Linked DNA regions of Homo sapiens: region 2 is linked to region 1. The links are contacts of gene promoters, found by promoter capture Hi-C in blood cells and fetal thymus (Javierre and others, 2016). All regions are on one chromosome and are shown on one strand. The core of a region is centred on a gene start or on the middle of the fragment in contact, and the rest is flanking DNA. Distances in the headings are between cores, read along the strand shown. Region 1 holds the start of GNB4 (G protein subunit beta 4). Region 2 overlaps PIK3CA-DT (PIK3CA divergent transcript).

What was found. The method cuts DNA at HindIII sites, captures the fragments that hold promoters and counts their contacts. A CHiCAGO score of 5 or more calls a contact.
Region 2: a fragment that was not itself captured here is called in contact with the fragment with the promoter of GNB4 in region 1 in 2 of 17 cell types (naive B cells and neutrophils); the score reaches 6.3 in naive B cells.

Annotation. Positions count from the first base shown.
Region 1 is chr3:179,449,086-179,456,576 of GRCh38, reverse strand. It overlaps GNB4 (G protein subunit beta 4), which reads left to right and starts at 5,107. Exons shown (of 10, transcript NM_021629.4): 1 at 5,107-5,231. It also overlaps the pseudogene RPL29P34. RefSeq lists silencers at 4,937-5,086, 5,127-5,536. The HindIII fragment of the contact is 16,902 bases long and covers 3,090-7,491 here.
Region 2 is chr3:179,139,657-179,146,632 of GRCh38, reverse strand. The region is part of intron 1 of PIK3CA-DT (PIK3CA divergent transcript); the gene reads left to right. Among named protein-coding and RNA genes, the nearest start is that of PIK3CA-DT, 4.8 kb to the left of the region's middle. The HindIII fragment of the contact is 1,329 bases long and covers 1,650-2,978 here.

The DNA.
Region 1 (7,491 bases), core at 3,858-6,357:
AGTATAAGTTTTAAAATCAAAGCAAAGCCAAAACAAATTTGTAAGGAAAACAAGATGTTTTCCATTGTTTGAAATATCTAACAGAACATATTAGCGTAAATGAAATCAATACTCTATGGGAGGAAGGAATGGAAAGACAGAATCTTAGATTGTTGGATTCTCATAGATTATTAATCCAGGGTTAGCAAATGTGCTTGTGGCAGATTATATTTCTGAAGTTAGCTGCAATGATATGTGGCATTCAACATGTTCCTCTAGATAAGTCTATCCAGCCTGGGGAACATGGTGAAACCCCGCCTCTACAAAAATACAAAAAAATTAGCTGTATGTGGTGGCACATGCCTATAATCCCACCTACTCAGGAGGCTCGAGAATCACCTGAGGTTGCAATGAGCTGAGATTGCGCCACTGCGCTCCACCCTCAGTGACGGAGCGAGATCTTGTCTAAAAAAAAAAAAAAAAAAAAAAAGTCTATGTCCCTATTACATGAATTTGTGACTGCCTAGACCAAGTGAGGATAGTGGAAGCAACACTATGTGATTGCTGAGGCTAAGTCATAAAAATGCTATGCATTTCCTCCTTGTTCTCTTGGAACACTTGCTCTTAGAACCCAGCCACTCTAATGCAAGGAATTCCAAGTAGCCCGTGGAAAGCCCTACGTGAAAAGGAACTGAAGTTTCTGCCCACACACCTGGCTGATCTTCCAGCTAGCAGCCAGCACCAACTTGCCAGCCATGTGAGAGTGCCATCTTAATAAGAGTCAAACTATCTGAGCCAGCATGGAACAGAGAACACGTCTGCCAAGCCCTGCCCATGTTGGAAATTCATGAACAAATTAAATAATTGTTGTTGTCCTAATCCACTAAGTTTGGTGACTTGAATAGAGCAATAGATAACTAATATGTCATCTCATTTTTAAACTCATGTTTTTACTCACTTAACAGAAACAGATCAGAGTTCCTTTTGAAAATGTGGTGTTCAGAAGAGTTCTTGGGATGAAATGAAGCTTACAGGGCAAGAGTCCACGATTGATTAGTGAAGTCATCCCCGGACATAGTCTGAGAGATGGCACCAGTGTTGTCTATTTGTCAATCGTATTAGAATTCAGCACCTTCATTTTATATAATTAAGACAGAATGCTGGCAGGGTAAGATCTGCTTAAGATCACACAGACATTTAATACCAGAGCCAAAGCTCTAAATCAAGTCTTCTGATGTGCAGTTTAGTGTTTTTTCACTTTGACATGTCCCTTTCCGGGGACCTGAATTCCCTGATTTCCCTGAATTCCCTGATTCCAGGGACCTGAATGACAGGACATAGAGCAGCAGATATATGCCTGCATGCTTCTAGTTCCCTCTCCCATGCCTGTGACAGATATCATTGACCCTCTCTTAAGGTCACTGGGATGCACTTGGATGACAGATTCCAAATTCCCATGGTTAACGAGAACCTGAGTGGAAATAAACAAAAGCTATAACTGATTTGTACCACCAGTGTCAGAGGAGTACAGCAAAGGTGACTCAAAGTACAAACTGTACTTTGATATGGAAAATGCATTGTGTGTGAGCAAGAGGGAAGGCTTTAGGCATGACTACTCTGTATCAAGGATGTCTGTCTGAAACCACACATAGACTGACTTCTTACAGAATCTACTAGGGAATTGCTTCTCATGTCCTTGGGAAACTGTGCTGTAGATCCTGTTAGATAATTTCCATTTAATATTTTATAACTTATTTTGTTGTGGGTGAAATAAAATCTGTTACGGTAGTTGTGATGTTGTATGTATATAATTTGGCCTCATTTCAAACACAATAGAATTGGAATGCATACAACACATACAGGGCGGTACTGAAATATTGTACACTTTAATAGCTGTGTTCTTCACGGTGTGCTTGGCATCGTCTGAGAGCAAGGTAGGCTCAGAAAAAAATATAGACCATTTCTAGGGTAAAACTTAAAAGCAGGATATACAAACCTATGGCACTATGGATTACAGGGTAGCTCACTGAGTACAGCATTCAGATTCATCCAATGTAGGACCAAGAGCAGAGCTTCTCTGAACTTGATCATAGTGAAGCAAAACACCCTGCAAAAGAAACTGTAACTAAACTCCTAGAAAAGCAATGACCACTTTCTCCTCTCCTATGATTCTGACTAGCGTGTGGGATGGGGTGAGGTATGCAGGTTATTTGCATAAAACAAGCAGCCAAGTGCATTCACTCATTTATTTGTTCGTGGAGTACCTAGCAAATGCAAGGTGCTCTGTTAAACACTATGGCAGACACAAAGATGAAACGGACAAGGATTTTGTCTTCAAAGGTTCTCTAGTAGGGACCCCACTATGCTCTCTTAATAGAGTAGGATTTGAGAACATGGGCCTAATGAGTTAGAAATCTAATTATCAGCCAGTGGCACCCAAACAAAAGATCATGGGGCTTAATCCTCAGAAGTAGGATACATCTCTACAATTGTCTACACAAACCAGCAGGCATCAGAAATGTTAATAGCATACCCCTTCACCTTTCTCTCTGCCTCCCTTCCCAGTCTCTCTCTTTTGTTCTTCGTGGATTTCATTATCATTGGAAAAATCATGAATTGCTGGATCACTTAGATGCATTAGTGTGCTCTTATGAAATCATTCCTGATGACAAAATTCTTTTAATCAGCTCCACTTTCAGATTTTCAGTATAGGCTTGTCCTTTAACAAGTAAGTTTTTTTTTTTTTTTCCAGAACAATATGGAGCAGGTATGGCAAAACAGAAATACAATATTCTTGGAAGTAGATTCGTTTGGATAATAATTAAACTTTCCTTTTTCTGTACTTGGACTTTATTCTTCTAGTAATTTCTTTGTCTACATTAAATTTTCAGGAAGATTGACGATATCATTCTTTTAAACTCTTTAAAAGACAGTCAAATTCTTGTTACATCTTTTCAGGTTTTGTATTTTATGTTTAGGAGCTGTTCATTTATATTTCCCCTCATCTTTTCTGGAATAGACTATCTCATTGCTTCCCACTGTGTTTTCCTAAATACCAGCAACTTGTTTTTCAACAAATAATCTTAACCCAACAACCAGCTCTCAAAGCTTTATAACATCTGGTAAATGCTAGTGCACAGGAACAAGGCAGAAAAGAATCTAAAGAAAGAATATGGGGCCGGGATCGGTGGCTCACGCCTGTAATTCCAGCACTTTGGGAGGCCGAGGTGGGCGGATCACCTGAGGTCAGCAGATTGAGACCAGCCTGGTCAACACGGTGAAACCCCGTGTCTACTAAAAATACAAAAAATCAGCCGGGCGTGGTGGCTTGTGCCTGTAATCCCAGACTTGGGAGGCTGAGACACGAGAATCGCTTGAATCCTGGAGGTGGAGGTTGCAGTGAGCTGACATCACATCACTGCACAGTGACTCCGTCTCAAAACAAAAAAACAAACAAAAAAAAGAAAGAATGTGGGCTTTGGAGTTGATCCAATCTGATGTCATGCAGGGCTCTACCAATACCTTCGTGACTCCGATAAATTAATCTTACCAGGGCATCAGTTTGCTTATCTGTAAAATGGGGATAAAATTCACACTTCAAGGTAATTATGAGGATTAAGTACAGTATAAGAAAGCAGAGAGCATGGTCCGTAATAGGCACTCTTTAACAATTTCCCTTTGCTTCCTCCGAAAAACGACAATCATAAAACTCAGGATTTAATCATTAAAACATAAATAGTTACAGATGCAAAACACTCATGTCCCAACGAGCTCTTCTGACACTTTGATATGCAGAATATTTGGCATTTCTTTCTTCTTAATGGAAAAATGCTCCTAATATTAGTAAAAATGAAAATTTTGGGGGAAAAATTATCCACAGTTTCTTTATCTGTGGATAAAGAAAATAGAAACAGCTGCTTCTATTTTTGTCACGGCCTGGCTTTTATACAAAACGGTCACATTTTCCCCACAGTCACAAACAGGGTGTGTTTATCATGGCATCACCTCTTTCAAGGGACTAATAGATTTATTCCAGGTGATAGTGGGAAGCAGCTACAGAAGGAGGATTGGAAGGCTGAGGGGTTGTTAAAGTTATCTGATGATATTGTTCGAACATTTCTCCGGCACAGAAACTCCACAAAGAACTCCTCTGCAGTTTTCGCTACCCAGGGCTGTTTCTTTAAATTGTTTGACGTCAGAGAAGGAATGCTATAGCAACAGTCTGTCAAACTGGAATTAACTCAGAAGAAAAATGGGGGTGGGGAGAGGAAAAATGCTCCCAGGCGGTACTGACTTCAGAGGAAGCAAATTGGATAGATGCATTTATTTTATGACATTTTAAACATAAAACACCCAGATAAATGTGAAAAAAAAAAAAACTCGATTGAGATGCATGTGGTGTTTAACTCATGCAGAGAAGAGCGACTTGGCAGGGATATCTGGAAGGCCTTCCAGTTTTATCAATGACAATAGGAACAATAACTTCCAAGTATTGGCCATTTATTTGGAGGCAGGCTTCGTGCAAACATCACTTCATTTAATATGCTTAGCACCTTTATGAGGCAGGTATCAGTATCTTTATTTTGGCGATGACGAAACTTAGGCCCGAGACGGTACACGGTCCTACAACTAGTGATGGAAGAGCGGGGACTGCAACGCAAGGTTGTGCAACTCTGGGCTTCAGTTTACTTTCTGACATTTAGAATTCCAGAATGGGAAACCTAAATGGGGCCTTTGGGGTCTTCTAGCTCTGCCCTTCGATCCTGCTAACAAGCAAACTGGCGCCTGTCAGCGCCGGAAAGGAAACTGGCCACGCCACTTAGACGGGCGCTACTTAGCAGCGTGCCCCGGCGCCACACCAACAAGAAAACGAAACTGCCCGGGAATGAATGTTTTTCTTCTCCTTCTGGCAGGAAACGAGAGAGAAAATAGGAAGCAGAAGCTGCGCGCGGCGCCCGCTCCCTTCGCCCCCCGCCCGGGCTGCGCGCGCTCCGAGGGTCTGCGCGTCCCCGGCACGTCCCCGCCGGGCCCGCGCGCCTCGTGCCTCGCGCCTCGCGCCTCCAGCCACGTCCCCGCCCCGGCTCCGGCGCGCCGCGGAGTTGGCTGCTGGGAGGTGCGGGACTGGGTGTGGCCGGCGGCTCTGGTCTCGGCTGTGAGCTGCGCTCTCCACGCCGGCTCCGCGCTCCAGGGGCTGCTGAGCGCCCAGCGGACACCGGCAGCGCGCGGTCGACGCGGGCCTGAGCTCCCTCCAGGTAGGCGGCGAGCTCGCGAGCGGCGGCTCGTCGGTGCGCCCCGCGAAGCGATCCCGGGCTTCTCGCAGGGACGTGGGGCGCCGCGAGCCACCCCTGCGGAACGGGGCCCGGGTGACGGCGCGGGGCGGGGCGGGTCTCCCCGGGCTCGGGCGGCCGACGCTGCCCGGGAGGGACGAGGAGGGCGCGCCTGTGTCGCGCCCAGCTGCCACGCGGGAACTGGCCCCACGACCGCCGGCGCAGGCACTTCCCGGGCGGTCCAGACCGCTCGCCCCGGGGAGCGAGGAACGGTCGGCGGTCCAAGTCCTGCAGACCCCCCTGGTTTCTCGTCACTCCCCGAGGCCTCCTTCCAGGAACTCAGAGCACGAGCCCGTGCGTGCCCCCAAAATAACGGGTATTCGGGACTGCCCAGCAGGGCTGTTGGGTGGAGAGTGCTTGGAAGACTCATAAAAGTTCTACGCTGAGTCCAAAATTAGTCCAATGGTTTTGTTTCAGATTTATTTTGGAAATGATATAATGTCCAGAGTTTGGGGATGGGAGGGGATTGATGAATTTTGAATACTTGTGAGTTCAGTACAATAAAAAGTGTTTTGCTTTTCTCTCCACCTTTTTCTGCTTCAGAACACAGATGATTGCCATATACTTTGATATGTATTGCTATTCGCTAAGGGAACGTTGAATTTTCAAAAGTTTGAAACCAGGCTTTCATTTGTTTATACAAGCAATACTTTGTTATTTTTCGTCTCCTTGTGTTCCCTTTTCTCCCACTCCTTCCCTTTCTCTTTCCATAAAGGATAAGGATGCATCTTTCTCCCTCTCAGCCACCGACAAAGTAGCTTGGCGTGTGGCTTAGCGGGAAGTTTTCTTAAAACGTTCAAAATTTAATTGTTGATTAGAACTTTTATTATGAGTCCGTCTCAGTGTTGCAAACAGAGTTTATGACCATTAAGTACATCTTCTAGGACAGAGACAGAACACACGCTACTTAATTTAAGATGGGAGGGAAGTTATTTCTAGTCGGAGAGGAGGACGGCTGATTAGGTGCATTCAAAATTGTGTGCTTCGAGTCTCTGCCATTGTTCATTTTAATACTCTTCAGTTTGGGGCTTTTGGTTTACTACTGATCCTAGGCTCTGAAAATTTACTGTATATTTCAGTATGTGGCTTAAAGACATTTTAAGATTTTCCATGTTGCATTTTGGTTTGTAGATGAATTTGAAACTGAAATAGAAACTTTTAAAATATCATCTTATTGAACGTTGTCAACCCTCTGTATATACATTTATAAAACTGATTGATACAGCTTGTGATATTTTAGGTTGGTTCAACTCTTTGTGGGCCCATAAACATTATTTAGGAAGTTATTCCGAGTCTTTGGCCTTTGTTAACCTGTAGAATTGTTTCTTTTAAACAATTGGCATGTAAGTATGTCAGCACATACTTTTACACTTTAAAAATAGACTCTGGGGCAATTTGAAAATTAAGAATTGGAACTAAGTGTTGGACATTCTTCTGGCCTTACCAAATACTGCCTGAGATGGTGTGATTTCTCTTAGGCATGTTATTGAAGTCAGCTGGCTGTATCATCAGTTTCTTTACCTTGCTGACTATTTTAATCTGCGTCTGTTATGGACTTATTTATTAAAATATCTCTTCTGGGCTGGGGCAGTGCTGTAAGTTATTCTACTTATATCTCACAGTAACACCATTATCTACTTCCACAGGTAAGGAAATTGTCTGTGAGGTTTTAAGTAACTTGGCAGTGGTCATGTAGGTGTTAGGTAACTCAACTGGGATTCGAAGCAAGACCCCTCTGTTTCCAAAGTCCATGTTCTTTCCCCTGAGCCATATTAACTTAGTTCGAGGGCATGAGGAGTGACCCTCAATTACTCATTAGCATGTGTGTAAAATATCCAAGACATGCCAGAAGCATGTTTGTTTTTCCAGCATGATCATTATTGTCTGTCCCATGTTTTTATACAGCTTCTCACATCAGCCATTCTCTTCTCACCACTCTACTCCTAGTTAAATGTCTTGTTCCAAGTTCAAAACCTCCCTTTTGCCAGGGCACAGTGTATCCTATTGATATTAATAGGTAGTGATGGCTTAATTATCTTGATAAAACAGTAACTCCATTTTAATGTGGGTTCTCTAGAGATAGAGTTATAACTAATTTGGAAGGTTACAAACAGGATTGCGGTCAATTTTGGGATATGAGAACCCTTTGATATCCCTCAAATTAAACTAGAGGATATTTTGATGG
Region 2 (6,976 bases), core at 1,065-3,564, 310 kb after region 1:
CTGCCTCAGCCTCCCGAGTAGCTGGGATTACAGGCACCAGCCAACATGCCAGCTAATTTTTGTATTTCTTAGTAGAGACGGGGTTTCACCATGTTGGTCAGGCTGGTCTCAAACTTCTGACTTCAGGTGATCCACCCCCCTCGACTTCCCAGAGTGCTAGGATTACAGGCGTAAGCCACCGCACCTGGCCTATTTGTGATTTTTAAAAATGTTTTATTTTTTGTAAAGACAGGGTCTTGCTTCGTTGCCCAGACTGGTCTCCAACTCCTGGGCTCAAGAGATTCATCTACCTCGGCCTCCCAAAGTGTTGGGATTACAGACTTCAGCCGACATGCCCAGCCTAAAATTTATTTTTTAATAAGAAAATGCTAATTACATAATATGTTTTTTGTTATGTGATTATCTGCCCCTAAGAAGTTGTGTGTCATAGCAGAAAAAGCCATACCTGGTACTTGAATGCATGACACCATTCATTGGTACAGGAGTAGCATTTACTATTCAATTCACGGTTGATAATGTTTGCCTTATATGTAAGCCATTGGTCTTAGGTGTCATCTTGCTTTCAAAGGTTTTTGCAATGTTATTCAGTGTTTAAAATATCTATATGATATAAAAATATCTGTATGATATAAGCATCTATATGACCAAACTCATCACTCAAGGATTAGGAGCTGAAAGAAGGTTTTAAAAAAATAATGATTCTCAGGCTGTAAATGAAACAAAAAATGGTATACTTCAAAATTAAATAATTGCATCCTAAGGGTTCTAAAGACGGGAGGTGAAATGTCCAGTATGTAGCTATTGTTCTATTCTAATAATCAGAATTATAATGACAGTTACTTGCCTTTTGGGTTTATTTCCATTGAAAATCATAACTGATACTCAAATATGCACCGAAACATTCTCTAATAGCGCTTAAGTCACTACTAAGCTTTGAAGTCCTTTGTAAATAAGAGTCAAGTTGATTATGTAGCAGTATACTTTAGATGTATAAAATTGCCAAGTCAAACAATAAAAACACACCAAGAGATAACGATATGAGTTACCATGTAGCACTGTTTTTTTTTTTTTTTTTTTTTTTTTGAGATGGAGTCTCGCTCTGTCACCCAGGCTGGAGTGCAGTGGCGCGATCTTGGCTCACTGCAACCTCTGCCTCCCAGGTTCAAGTGATTCTCCTGCCTCAGCCTTCCGAGTAGCTGGGACTACAGGCACGTGCCACCACGCCCGGCTAATTTTTGTATTTTTAGTAGAGACGGGGTTTCACCATATTGGTCAGGCTGGTCTTGAACTCCTGACCTCATGATCCGCCCGCCTTGGCCTCCCAAAGTGCTGAGATTACAGGTGTGAGCCACCACGCCTGACCGAGACTCCATCTTAAAAAAAAAAAAACCATACACCCACACACACATACACACACGTACTTTTAAGATTTCAGTTCTTTTCAAGTTAAGATTTGTGTTGCCCCAGAATATCTTGGTGAATGTCCCATGTGCACTTATGAAAGAATATTTTGTTTGCTATTGTTGGGCAGAATGTAGTTTCTTACCAAGTTGATGATTTTGTTAGCATTGATGTTTCAAAATATAATTGTGGATTTCTTTATTTCTCATTTCACTTCTGTGTATTTTTACTTTGTGTGTTTTGAAGCTTTGTTGTTAGATGTATACACATTTAGAACTCTTGTGTTTTGATACATTGACTCTTTTTAATCAATCTGTACTATCTCTCTTTATTCCTAGTAATATCTTTGTTCTGAAATCTACTTTGTCTGATATTAATACAGCCAGTCCAGCTTTTTTTGATTAATTTTTCCATGGTATTTTTTCCCATCTTTTTTATATCTATTTTTATATTTAAAGTGAGTTACTCGTAGACAACACGTATTAGATCTCTTTTTAAAAATTCCAATCTGACAATTTCTGTGTTTTAATTGCTGTGTTTAATTTACATTTAATGTAATTATATGGATTTAGGCTTGCCATTTTATTATTTGTTTTCTGTTTTTCCTCTATACTTTTGTTTTTATGTTTCTACTTTCCTGCTTTCTTGTGGATTATTTGAAAAATTTTTAATATTCCATTTTAATTTCTATATTGTAGTTTTAATATATTTCTTGGTAATTTTTTGGTAATTCTATGGATTATAATATACATACCTAAAGTTTTGCGGTCTACTTAGTATTACTATTACACCACTTCAAGTAAAATGTAGAAAGAAGCCTTGCAACCGTGTAGATTTACCACTGTCTCCTACCCCACTCCCTGACCTTTATGTCATTAGTTGGCATATGTATTACATTTATATATATGGAAGCCCCATCAGATGTTTTTATAATTTTTGCTTTCAACAGTCATATAGAACTCAAGAGGAAAAATAATCTTTTATATTTACGTATCCATTTACATTTATGTTTTGCTTCATTCCTGAAAATCCATTTTTCCTTCTGGTATAATTTCCCTTTATCCTGAAGAATTTTAACATTCTTTTTAGAGAAAGTCTGCTTGTGACAAATTCCCTTCATTTTCCTTCATTTGAGAATATTTTACTTTTGCCTTCATTTCTGCAAAATATTTTAGCTGATTATACAATTCTCGGTTAATGGTTTTCTCCCCTCCCTGACCCATCAGTACTTTAAAGAATCATCATTGCATTTCTTAGGAGATGAAGAGCAAACCCTGTACTTTCCTCAAAATTCCACTATGTGAGCTAAGAGATCTAGTATCTGAGAAGTTCACCTTAAAACACTTAACAGTCAATGTTTTTCATTCCAGCCATGCCTTGCCTAGAGTCAGATATGAATGTCATTACTATCACACAACCATGTTAAAGTCTAACTGCTCTACTTACACTTAGCACGGGAGGATTCTGGCAAAGCTCCTTTCCATACTTGAAATACAAAACAATTCTGGCCACAGAAAGGAGACAAATGTGTAATGTTCTCAAGTTACCAGGAGTGCACTTATGGAGAAATCAAAGCTTTGAAATTCGTAAAAGACTATTTTCAGCCAGGTGTGTTGGCTCACGCCTGTAATCCCAGCACTTTGGGAGGCTGAGGTGGGTGGATCACTTGAGCCCAGCAGTTTGAGACCAACCTGGGCAACAGGGCGAAACGCCGTCTCTACAAAATAATACAAAAAAATTAGCCGGTCCTAGTGGCATGCATCTGTAGCCCCAGCTACTCGGGTGGCTGTTGCTGAGGTGGGAGGATCCGCTGAGCCCAGGAGTTTGAGGCTGCAGTGTGCTGTGAGCATGTCATTGCACTCTAGCCTAGGCGACAGAGCAAAACCATGTCTCCAATAAGTAAATAAATAAATTAATTTAAAAAACATAAAAAAGACTATTTTCAGGTCTCATCTGTGGTCATTCAAATAGTTTCCCCCAATACGTAATTTTTCTTTTTTCTCTGGATTATATCAAGATTTAAAAATTTAGTTGGGAGGCCGAGGTGGGTGGATCACGAGGTCAGGAGATCGAGACCATCCTGGCTAACATGGTGAAACCCCGTCTCTACTAAACAATACAAAAAATTAGCCGGGTGTGGTGGCGGGCGCCTGTAGTCCCAGCTACTCGGGAGGTTGAGGCAGGAGAATGGCGTGAACCCGGGAGGCGGAGCTGGCAGTGAGCCGGGATTGCGCCACTGCACTCCAGCCTGGGTGACAGAGCGAGACTCCGTCTCAAAAAGAAAAAAAAAAAGTTTAAAAATTTAGGTTTTAAATGGTTTGATTCTGATATGCTGAGGTATTGTTTTATTTCTTCTGTTTGTGTGTGTCTAGTTCCTGAATTTGTAAAATTATGTATTTCACTAATTTTGGGAAGTTTTCAGAAATTACTTTTTCCAAATATTTTTCTGCCCCAGTTATTTTATTCTCTTCTGGGAATCCAGTGACAAGAATGTTAGCTGTTTTGAAATTGTCCTACATGTCTCTAAGGCTCTGTTCATTTTTTTTTCCAATCTTTTTTCCTCTCTCTTGTTCCTCATATCTATCTATGCTGGATATTTTCTGTTGCTATATCTTGTAGTTCACTTACTTTTGTCTCTGTCATGTCTGTTCTGCTATTGAGCTCCCCCAGATATTTTTAAAATCTTAGATATTGTATTTTTTAACTCTTCATTTTCTGATTGGCTCTTTTTTCAATGGTTTCTGTTCCTCTCCTGAGTACCTATACCTTTCTGTTCATTTCAAGTTAGGTCTTTACCTCAGGGACCATAGTTAGTACCTACGTTAAAGTCTTTCTCTGATAATTCCAACATTTGGATCAACTCAGGATTGGCATTTGCTGATCGTCCTTTCCCTTGAGAATTGGACACATTTTCCTGTTTTTTTTTTTAATATGTCGAGTCATTTTGGATTGTATATTGGAAAATTTGAATATTATGTTGATTTGATTATGTGTTCTGTTATCCTCTGGATAATATTAATTTTTTGTTTGTTTTAGTAGGAAATCCATGTGACTAAGTGTACTCTTGCTTTCTGTGGAAAGTGATTCTAATCTCGGTTTTGATTTTAATGTCTTTCCTATGCTGCTTTGGTCCTACGCTGTGGATGTGCTTGCTACTCAGGGGTTAGTCTGAGCTATAGTTAGAATTTTCTTTTTCATTTTTCTTTCCGACTCTTATTTTGGGTTCAAGGGGTACATGTGCAGGTTTGTTACATGGGTAAATTGTGTGTCATGGGGGTTTGGTGTACAGATAATTTTGTCACCCAGGTAATCTCATAATACTCGAGAAGTAGTTTTCAGTCCTCACCTTCCTCCCACCCTCCACCCTCCCATAGGCTTCAGTGTCTATTGTTCCCTTTTTTGTGTCCGTGTATACTCAATGTTTAGCTACCACTTATAAGTAAAAACATGCAGTATTTGATTTTCTGTTCCTGCATTAACTCGTTTAAGATGACAGCTTCCAGCTCCATCCATGTTGTTGCAAAGGCCATGATCTCATTTTTTAATAACTGTGTAGTATTCCATGGTGTATGCATACCACATTTTCTTTATCCAGTCCACTGTTGATGGGCTTCTAGGTTGATTCTGTGTCTTTGCTATTGTGAATAGTGCTGTGATAAACATACGCATACCTGTGTCTTTATGGTAAATGATTTATATTTCTTTGGATGTATACCCAGTAATGAAATTGCTGGGTCAAATGGTAGTTCTATTTTAAGTTCTTTCAGAAATCTCCAGACTGCTTTCCACAGTGACTGAACTAATTTACATTCCCACTACCAGTGTATAAGTATTCCCTTTCCTCCACAACCTTGCCAGCATATGTTATTTTTTTGACTTTTTAATAATAGCCATTCTGACTGGTGTGAGATGATATTTCACTGTGCTTTAAATTTGCATTTCCCTAATGATTAGTGATATGGAGCATTTTTTCATAGGCTTGTTGACCGTGTGTTTATCTTCTTTTGAGAAGTGTCTATTCATGTCCTTTGCCCATTTTTAATGGGGTTGTTTGTATTGTGCTTGTTGATTTGTTTATGCTCCTTATAGATTCTGAATATTAGAACTTTGTTGGATGTGTAGTTTGCAAATATTTTCTGCCATTCTGTATACATTGTCTGTTTGCTTTATTGGTAGTTTCTCTTGCTGTGCAGAAGCTCTTTCATTTAATTCGGTCTCATTTTTCAATTTTCGTTTTTGTTGCAATTGCTTTTGGCATCTTTGTCATGAAATCTTTGCCTGGGCCAATGTCCAGAATGGTATTTCCTAGATTTTTTTCTAGGGTCTTTATAGTTTTAGGTTCTCTATTTAAGTCTTTAATGCATCTTGAGTTGATTTTTGTATATGGTGAAAGTTACAGGTTTAATTTTAATCTTCTGCATGTGACTAGCCAGTTATCCCAGCAGCATTTATTAAATAGGGAGTCCTTTCCCCATTGCTTGTTTTTGCAACTTTGTTGAAGATAAGGTGGTTATAGATATATGGCTTTATTTCTGGGCTCTGTATTCTGTTCCATTGGTCTATGTGTCTGTTTTTGTATCAGTACCATGCTGTTTTGGTAACTTTTTTTTTTTTTTTTTTTTGAGATGGAGTCTCGCTGTGTTGCCTAGGCTGGAGTGCAATGTCAAGATCTCAGCTTACTGCAACTTCTGCCTCCCAGGTTCACGCCATTCTCCTGCCTCAGCCTCCCAAGTAGCTGGGATTACAGGTGTCTGCCACCACGCCTGCCTAATTTTTTTTTTTTTTTTTTTGTATTTTTAGTAGAGACGGGGTTTTACTATGTTGGCCAGGCTGGGCTTGAACTCCTGACCTTGTGATCCACCCACCTTGGCTTCCCAAAGTGCTGGGATTACCAGCGTGAGCCCCCTCGCTGTGCCTGGTTACTCTATCTTTATAGTATAGTTTGAAGTCAGATAGTGTGATGCTTCTGGCTTTGTGCTTTTTGCTTAGGATTGCTTTGGGTATTTGGGCTCTTTTTTGGTTCCAAATGAATTTTAGAATGTTTTTTTCTAATTCTCTAAAAAATGTCATTGGTAGTTTGACAGGATTAGCATTGAATCTGTAAATAGTTGTGGGCAGTATGACCATTTTTAAAATACTGATTCTTCCTATTCATGAGCGTAGAATTTTTTTCATTTGTTTGTGTCACCTCTGATTTTTTTCAACAGTGTTTTGTAATTCTCACTGTAGAGCTCTTTCACCTCCCTGGTTATCTGTATTCCAATTCCTTTTTGTTGCTGTTGTGAATAGGATTTCACTCTTGATTTGTCTCTCAGCTTGGATGTTATTGGTGTATAGAAATGGTACTGATGTTTGTACATTGATTTTGTATCCTAAAACTTTGCTGACATTGTTCATCAGATCTAGAAGCCTTTGGGCAGAGACTATGGGGTTTTTTGGGTATAGAGTCACATCATCCATGAAGAGAGAGAGTTTGACTTCCTCTCTTCCTGTTTGGATGCCTTTTATTTCTTTCTCTTGTCTGATTGCTCTGGCTACGACTTCTAGTGATATGTTGAATAGGAGTGTGGGAATG